2 separate regions of the Homo sapiens genome follow, and region 1 is linked to region 2. The links are contacts of gene promoters, found by promoter capture Hi-C in human tissues and cell types (Jung and others, 2019). All regions are on one chromosome and are shown on one strand. Each heading gives the region's core, a stretch centred on a gene start or on the middle of the fragment in contact. The rest is flanking DNA. Distances are from core to core; before and after follow the strand shown. Region 1 overlaps ATP2A2 (ATPase sarcoplasmic/endoplasmic reticulum Ca2+ transporting 2). Region 2 holds the start of ATXN2 (ataxin 2).

Region 1 (4,456 bases), core at 291-2,790, 1.3 Mb before region 2:
AGTGCTGTGTTGCTGTATAAATGTCATATGGAGGATAACCTACAAAATACACTTCGGATCTCCCAACAGCTTTGCGGTTCTGAAACAGCCTTCAGTAGTACCACTGAAAAGAAACGGGGAATTAACTGGTTTTTTGTTTCTTTTATAGAGATGAGGGTCTCGCTATGTTGCCCAGGCTGGTCTCAAGCTCCTGGCATGAAATGATCCTCCTGCCTTGGCCTCCCAAAGTGCCGGGATTATAGGCATGAGCCACTGTTCCCGGCCTAGAATTAAACAGTTTATATATGCTCTAAAATTTAAGTCAGTGATCAAGTTGTTTATACTGTGGATTTATGTCACATGGATATTACTTGATATGAATAATAACTAAATGAACATGACTGTTAGATGATCACCTTTTACTTTAATCAAGAATTGAAGTTTTATTTTTTCTAAATAGATACATATAAAATGAATGGAATTTATTCCCTCTCCCCAGATTTTATTTGGATTCTAAAATGGAATTATTACATCAAAAGATAAGGTATTTTTAAGAAGTATAGTTGTTTTTTTGAGACTGAGTCTTGCTCTAACGCCCAGGCTGGTGTGCAGTGGTGCGATCTCAGCTCACTGCAACCTTTGCCTCCCAGGTTCAAGCGATTCTCCTGCCTCAGCTTCCCAACTAGCTAGGACTGCAGGTGTGCGCCACCACACCTGGCTAATTTTTTGTGTTTCTAGTAGAGGTGGTTTCACCTTGTTGGCCAGGGTGGTCTCGAATTCCTGACCTCAGGCGATCTACCTGTCTCGGCCTCCCAAAGTGCTGGGATTACAGACTTGAACCACCACACCCAGCCATGAAGTATAGTTTTTTGTTTGTTTTTTGAGTTTTGCTTTTGTTGCCCAGGCTGGAGTGCAATGGTGCGATCTTGGCTCACCGCAACCTCTGCCTCCCGGGTTCAAGCGATTCTCCTGCCTCAGCCTCCTGAGTAGCTGGGATTACAGGCATGCACCACCACACACTGCTAATTTTGTAATTTTAGTAGAGATAGGGTTTCTTCGTGTTGGTCAGGCTGGTCTCGAGCTCCAGACCTCAGGTGATCCCCCCGCCTTGGCCTCCCAAAGTGCTGGAATTACAGGCGTGAGCCATCGCACCCGGCTTTTTTTTTTGTTTTGAGACCGAGTCTTGCTCTGTTGCCCAGGCTGGAGTGCAGTGGCACGATCTCGGCTCACTGCCACCTCCGCCTCCTAGGTACAAGTGATTCTCTTGCCTCAGCCTCCCCAGTAGGTGGGATTACTGACACACATCACCATGCCCAGGTAATTTTTTTGTATTTTTAGTAGAGACGGGGTTTCGCCATGTCGGCCAGGCTGGTCTGGAACTCCTGACCTCAGGTGATCTGCCCGCCTCAGCCTCCCAAAGTGTTGGGATTACAGGTGTGAGCCACTGTGCCCAGCTGAAGTATAGTTTTGACTTTCAAGAATTCTTATGAACAAGACATAGCCAGTTGTTTATATAATTGCATTTTCTACCGTTTATTTCTAGAGAAAGAAAATAGATTTTGTCTATCATAATCCCTTTAGTGCTAGCCACTTTTTTTTTTTTTTTTTTTTGAGTTTTCGCTCTTGCTGCCCAGGCTGGAGTGCAATGGCATGCAGTACACTCACGGCTCACTGCAACCTTTGCCTCCCCAGGTTCAAGTGATTCTCTTGCCTCAGCCTCCTGAGTAGCTGGGATTACAGGCACCTACCACCATGTCCAGCTAATTTTTTGTATTTTTAGTAGAGATGGGGTTTCGCCATGTTGGGCAGGTTGGTCTGGAACTCTTGACCTCAGGTGATCGCCTGCCTTGGCCTCCCAAAGTGCTGGGATTACAGGCCTGAGCCACCATGCTCGGCCAGTGCTAGCCACTTTTTAAAAAAGTGACATTAAGCCTAAAAAGACACATTCTAACGTGCCATTTCTCTTCTAGGTTTTGGCTTGGTTTGAAGAAGGTGAAGAAACAATTACAGCCTTTGTAGAACCTTTTGTAATTTTACTCATATTAGTAGCCAATGCAATTGTGGGTGTATGGCAGGTAAGCAAAAATTCCTGTACTGCAAAATTTCAATAAGTTATGTAAGTGATTAGGGCTGTATTAATCTTTCTGTTATCTGTTTTTCCTGATGTGTTGAGTAAAAATATGTTTGCGGGAAGTTTACATGTATTTTCCCTTTATTCCATAAATTAATTGTTTTCTGACACAGTCTCACTCTGTTGCCCAGGCTGGAGTGCAATGGTGTTGTCTCGGCTCACTGCAACCTCTTCCTCCCAGGTTCAAGTGGTTCTCGTGCCTCAGCCTCCCAAGTAGCTGGGACTACAGGCACGCACCACCACGCCCAGCTCATTTTTGTATTTTTTGGTAAGAGACAGGGTTTCACCATGTTGGCCAGGCTGGTCTTGAGCTCCTGACCTCAAGTGATCCGCCCTCCTCAGCCTCCCAAAGTGCTGGGATTACAGACGTGAGCCACCATGCCCGGCCTATTAATTTAATTAATTGCAAATTTTTGACCTTAATGCATATAAACTTTGCAGTTAAGATTGCTCATTCTTCGCCAAGTGTGGTGGCACCAGCCTGTAGTCTCAGCTACTCAGGAGGCTGAGGTGGGAGGGTTGCTTGAACCCAGGAGGTCAAGACTGTAGTGAGCCATGATCGTAACACTGCACTCCAGTCTGGGCAAAGGAGCAACACTGTCTCAGAAAAACATTGTTCATTCTTTACGGTAGCAAGGAATTAAAATGGGTGAGAGAAGCTGCTTAAGGAAATGAGAATGTGAGAACCATTATCTTTATGTCTCCTAGTTGCTTCCTGTGACAAACTTTAAAAGCTACATGTCATTTTTATTCTCCTTGGGTTTTTTTGGTAGGTTTAGCTATAAAAATTGTTTCCCCTTCAGTGCTTACTACAGACTCTGAGACTTAAAATTCATGTTAAGTGTTGATCTTTTAGGTATTTGACGGATATAATCACCCCTTTGAGGACTGAAGTAGACCTTTTTTTTGTTTTTGTTTTGAGACCGACTCTCTGTCGCCCAGGCAGGAGTGCAGTGGCACGATCTCGGCTCACTGCAACCTCCGCCTCCCAGGTTCAAGCAGTTCTGCCTCAGCCTCCTTGAGTAGCTGGGATTACAGGCACCTGACACCACACCCAGCTAATTTTTGTATTTTTAGTAGAGACGGGGTTTCACCATCAGGCTGGTCTCAAACCCCTGACCTCGTGATCCACCCACCTCGGCCTCCCAAAGTGCTGGGATTACAGGTGTGAGCCACCACTCCCGGCCTTTTTTTTTTTTTTTTTTTTTGTTTGTTTGTTTGTTTGTTTGTTTTGACCGACTTTCACTCTTGTTGCCCAGGCTGGAGTGCAATGGTGCAGTCTTGGCTCACTGCAACCTCCACTTCCCGGGATCAAGCAATTCTCCTGTCTCACCCTCCCGGGTAGCTGGGATTACAGGCACGTGCCACCATGCCCAGCTAACTTACTTACTTTTAATAGAGATGGGGTTTCATTTTGTTGGTCAGGCTGGTCTCAAACTCCTGACCTCAGATGATTCCCCCTGCCTTGGCCTCCCAAAGTGCTAGGATTACATGCGTGAGCCACCACGCCCGACACATCTTATAAACATACTTAGTCCTGTTGAAATTGTAAACTTCTAATCTTTACCAATAAATGTTAACGATCTTTATGTGGTAGGTTCATAGAAAGATGGCCTACTTAGAGATTTGTAATTGTGCCATATATATGTGTGTGTGTGTGTGTGTGTGTGTGTGTGTGTGTGTGTATATATTTTTTTTTTTTTTTTTTTTTTTTTAGATGGAGTCTTGCTCTGTTGCCCAGGCTGGAGTGCAGTGGTGTGATTTTGGCTCACTGCAACCTCCGTCTTGTGGGTTTGAACAATTCTCCTGCCTCAGCTTCCCGAGTAGCTGGGATTATAGGTGACTGTCACCATGCCTGGCTGTTGTTTTTTTTGTTTTTTTGAGACAGAGTCTCACTCTGTCACCCAGGCTGGAGTGCAGTGGCATGATCTTGGCTCACTGCAAGCTCCGCCTCCCGGGCTCACGCCATTCTCCTGTCTCAGCCTCCCGAATAGCTGGGATTACAGGTGCCCACCACCACGCCCAGCTAATTTTTTGTACTTTTAATAGAGACGGGGTTTCACCGTGTTAGCCAGGATGGTCTCGATCTCCTGACCTTGTGATCCGCCTGCCTCGGCCTCCCAAAGTGCCGGGATTACAAGTGTGAGCCACTGTGCCTGGCCTTCTTCTTATGTTTTTCTCAAAAAAATTATATTTGGTCAGGGCATGGTAGCTCATGCCTGTAGTATCAGCAGTTTGGGAAGCTGAGGCGGGTGGATCAGTTAAGGTCAGGAGGTCGAGACCAGCCTGGCCAACATGGCAAGTCCCCGTCGCTACTAAAAATACAGAAAGTTAGCTGGGTATGGT
Region 2 (4,505 bases), core at 1,315-3,814:
AAAAATCTAAATTAACCTTAAATTGTTGTAAAGCCTCAAGGAACAGAAAAAAGACCTTGTGGTACTAAAACATTCCAAATATCTTTGATCACTCAAACTACTCAGGAGCAAATTCTCTTATAATCTAATTTTTAAGCCTAGTAGTCAATGCAACTTAATAACCTTAGTTTTAATGTTTATATATTTGAACATGTTGAATTATCTGCCAAATCTCTTCCTAATACCTAAGAAAGTAAAAACAGAATACATCCTTTTCTATAAAAGTTGTATTTTAAATTTTTTCATTTTTCGCTAGATGCCAACGAAAAAGGGAAACTGAAGTTACCCTACTTGGGGAAACGATCACTTCATCTGAACTAGTTTGGCTAAGTAGTGTTTGGGATGCTTCAGACTCAGAGAAGGGGAAGGGGGGGCGGGGCGTGTAAAGTCAAATAACCGACTGTTTCCGCCCCCTTTGAAGGCAGCAGAATTCCTTAAAAACCAGCTGATTCCTCTTGATGGGGAATTTCTGCTGTAAATAAAAATTCTTTGGAAATGGGTTGCTGAAAATGTGTTTTCAAAAAGAAAACTCGGGTGAATGAAAAATCCTCTTATTCCACCTTCCAAAGCCCAAGATGCCTATTTAAGGAGGACGCCGGTCACCCGCCGTCAAGCCGGCGGCCTAGGCCTAAAGAAGGCACAGTAGTGCCTACAACACGGATGGACTTGAGGCACAAGGGAAATGGACTTGCGTGCCCTTGGTAAGCTCTGGCGGCACTCCCGAAGTTAAGGACACCGGCCACAATGGAATGGAGTCTATTGACGTTTCCTTCTCCCTTTGAACACTAAGCATTTTCTTAGTTCGTGAAATACGAACTGACAACCGCCCGCCACCCCCAACAGGCCCTCCTGCACAAACACACCCTCGAGTCAAACCCAGTTAGCCGGGACAACACTGAGCCCCCAGCCCCTACTACAACCCCGGCTTAGGAGGGAAAAAGACGCTAGTAAACACCCGCCTTTCTGCCTTCAGGAACCCGACCACGTCCCCTGCTGCAATCTCTCTCTCCTAGCATTTCCGAAATTGGGGCGGGGGTTGGGATAAGTGCGCAGGGTGCCCGCCCCCTGCCACCAGCACCGCCACCCCGGATCTCCAGGGTCCAGCCTGGGTCCAGCCCTCACCCACCGATGTTCCACAGGCGCCTTCTCCACTGCGGCCTCGAACAGCAATGCGGATCGGCCACCACCCGCGCGCCGGAGAGGTCTGGCGGGGGAAGGAGGAAGGCCGGGACGGGGCCGGGCACTCCCCACCCCTTCCCTTCCCCAGGTGGGGGAGGGTGGAACGCTGCCGGAGGCCACATGGAGCCCCACGATTTCAGGGGAGTTCGGGAGCCCCCGCCGCCGCCTCGGACACGAACGCAGAGGGGTGCGGGGGCCAAGGCCCACTTGTCTCCACCCCGTCCTCCGATCTTTCCCAGGACTCGGAGGGGGCGGGGAGAGAGCCCCGACAGACCCTGATGATTCCGGAGGAGCCCGGTGCCTACCCCTTTAACCGGCACGGGGGACGCGGCCCTAACTTCTCCCCTCCAGAGATGTCCCCCATGGAGGGGGACATGTTCCGGAAAACGCCACCACAGCCTCCAGACCCCTCCAACGTTCACACCTAAACCGGGAGTGGAGGAGCTGCCCGAGCATCCCCACGCTGCGGGCGGAGGATCGTGCGGAAGGGGGAGCCGGGGCTGACCATCGCCGCTACCCGAGAACCCCTCCCAACACGCGTGGGGAGGGGAGGCCGCCCGCTCCCTCCATCTTGACCGCCGGGGGAGGGGGCGGGGATGCTGCGGGAGGCTGGACAGGCCTGACAATCCCAGAGGACCCCGGCTGCGCCCACCGGCCGAGCCTCGGGGCTCAGGCCCGAGCGAGTCTCCCCCGCGCTGCCGGCCCCCAGCCCACCCCGGGTAGCCCGGCGGGTCACGGGGCGGGGACGGCGGCGCGGGCCGCGGGGGAGGGGACGCCGGGCCCGGAGCGGAGGGGGCTGGGGTGCCGACACCCACCTGCCCAGGCCGGGCCTCCCGCCGCCGGAGGTCGCCGCGACCACCGAGGAGGGAGCCGTGGCCGAGGACGAGGAGACCGAGGACGAGGACGGCGAAGGCGCGGCGGCGGGCGACGCTAGAAGGCCGCTGCCGCCGGGCTTGCGGACATTGGCAGCCGCGGGCGGCGGCTGCTGCTGCTGCTGCTGCTGCTGCTGTTGCTGCTGCTGCTGCTGCTGCTGCTGCTGCTGCTGCTGCTGGGGCTTCAGCGACATGGTGAGGGGCCCATACACCGGCTCGCACGCCGGGCGGGGACAGCCGGGAGCCGGGCGCGCCAAGGAGACGCCGGAACGCGGCGGGGACGCGCGGGCGCCGAGCGGGGAGGCGCGGGTTGGCGCGGCCGGAGGGGCGCCCGGGCTGGCGAGGGGGAGAAGGAGGACGACGAAGGGGCGGGGAGGCCCGCCGAGACCAAGGAGCCGCCGGGAGCCGGGCCGAAACGCGCCGCCGCCGTTGCCGTTGCTACCAAAACAGTCTGAGGCGGAGGGAGGCGAGCTCTGCCGGGAGGGAGGGGGGCCGGGGCCGGGCGGGGGAGGGGCGGCGGAGGGATACGGTCCCGGGGCCGCGCCACCGCCGCCCCGCCCGCTCCGCCGCGCCGGCCGCTGGAGCGAGCGCCACCCGGGCCACCTGGCTGCGGCGAAGCGGCGAGACTCGGTGGCCACCGCGGGACTCCGAGGAGCTGCGGCCGCTGAGCGCATCGGAGGGCGGGCGCGCCGAGGCGCCGGGTGGGAGCGGAGGTGCGGATAGGGACTCTTTACCGGAAGTCGGAGGGGTCAGACGGAAGCAGAACGTGAGGTGGCCCCGGGGCCGGGAGGGACACGTGAGGAGCGGGCGGCGCGCTGGGTTGCTTTCTCGGGGGTCGGGTGAGGGCCAGGCGGCGGTCCCTACCCGGATCCGCCTTCCTCAAGGCGGGTCTGCCCTTCGGGGAGGGCGTGTCGGTCTCAGCCTCTGGGGCCTGCCTGGTGTGGAGGACAGGAGAGAAGCATTTCTTCTCCTACTGTATTCCTTCAGCATCTTCACTTCTGCGGGGACCTAGTTTGCCCCCACCTGATGCAACCCAGAAAATGGACTGACTGCGAGTGCCTTGGGGCGGAGAATGTGTCTTGCTACGTGTAAAGCACCTAGAACCCTGCCAGATTCAGGGGACACAGCATCCTGCCGTTTTCCTGCCGTCCCCCGCCCGCCACACAGTAGGCGCTCCAGTGGCTCGGGGCATCTACCAGGCAGGCCGCGCTGTCCTGCCCTGCCGGGGCTGGAGTGGAGCAACCCTCCGGGGCCACCCACATCTGGGTACCTTTTCCCCACTTTTTCCACCCCAGCCGCGCACAGTCACCAGAAAACTCTTTTAGGTATCTGACCTTCATTTGAACCTATGTTCCCTCACTTGAACTTCTTTTTCCTCATTCATGAGATTCTAAAGGAAATATATGGGATTGGGACTGGTAGAACTACGGATAATGGGATCTCCCTCGGTAGAGACAGAGCCGACCTCAAAACAATGTGCGAACTTTAGACCTTGGACCCTTTAGAAGTTTTAATTTAACTTACCCAGCCAGCACAGTAGACTCTTTTTAAAATGTGTTGCAGTTAAACTGGAAGCAAGTAGAAAGTAGGTAACTTTTTTTTTTTTTTTTGAGCAGTGAATCTATTGTTTTTTAAAGTGAAATGACTTCAGGAAATAATAGGGGAAGAAACACCAAAATTCCCCTCAATGTCCTAGAACTGTCCAGATAAAGGTAAAGACTTAGATAAACGTGGAGAATGATTGAACCAGCAGTTTTCAGTAGTCCAACTGAAATTAACCTCCTAGATAGTCCAGGCAAAAATGATCATTGTATTCTGCCAATGTAGGAAATCAGTTTTATTTCCCATCTAAGGTAAAAAGTAGATCAAGGGACCATTGCAAAACCCTTTAAAAATTAACCTAGCCTAGCCAACATGGTGAAACCCCGTCTCTACCAAAAATATAAAAATTAGCCGGGTGTGGTGGTGGGCGCCTGTAATCCCAGCTACTCGGGAGGCTGATACAGGAGAATTGCTTGAATCCGGGAGGTGGAGGTTGCAGTCAGCCGAGATCATGCACTCCAGCCTGGGCGACAGAGCGAGACTCCGTCTCAAAAAATAAATAAATAAATAAATAAATAAAGTAACCTAAAGGAAACTGGAACTAAAAAACCAGTTGAAACAAAAAAATACCTGTACCCGGCTGTGGTACAGGCCAGGGCTGCTGTGAGGGGAAGCTCCTGGAGAGGGTGACATGGGGCAGGGACCCAAATGAGCATGGGCATGAGGATCCTGGGGAGAAACGCTCCAGGTGGAGGGCACAGCGAGGGCAAAGGCTCTGAGGGGGGAGTCTGAGGAACAGCAAGGAGGCCTGCAATGGAGCAGGTCGTCAATGGTGTCCCGTTATATTCTTTCTTTAATAGAAATACAAACACT

The links. Contacts are between HindIII fragments. The study calls those that stand out against the background at their distance.
Region 1: a fragment that was not itself captured here is called in contact with the fragment with the promoter of ATXN2 in region 2 in 1 of the 25 tissues and cell types used here (dorsolateral prefrontal cortex).

What each region holds. Positions count from the first base shown.
Region 1 is chr12:110,290,071-110,294,526 of GRCh38, forward strand. ATP2A2 (ATPase sarcoplasmic/endoplasmic reticulum Ca2+ transporting 2) reads left to right here. Exons shown (of 20, transcript NM_170665.4): 4 at 1,950-2,054. Among named protein-coding and RNA genes, the nearest start is that of ATP2A2, 11 kb to the left of the region's middle. The HindIII fragment of the contact is 6,416 bases long and covers 1-4,456 here.
Region 2 is chr12:111,596,751-111,601,255 of GRCh38, forward strand. ATXN2 (ataxin 2) reads right to left here and starts at 2,565. Exons shown (of 25, transcript NM_001372574.1): 1 at 2,034-2,565. The coding sequence starts at 2,284. It overlaps ATXN2-AS (ATXN2 antisense RNA), which reads left to right and starts at 2,748. Exons shown (of 2, transcript NR_146497.1): 1 at 2,748-2,803; 2 at 3,078-3,505. RefSeq lists silencers at 1,210-1,339, 1,930-1,979, 2,070-2,239, 2,300-2,609 and an enhancer at 3,070-3,299. The HindIII fragment of the contact is 12,348 bases long and covers 1-4,505 here.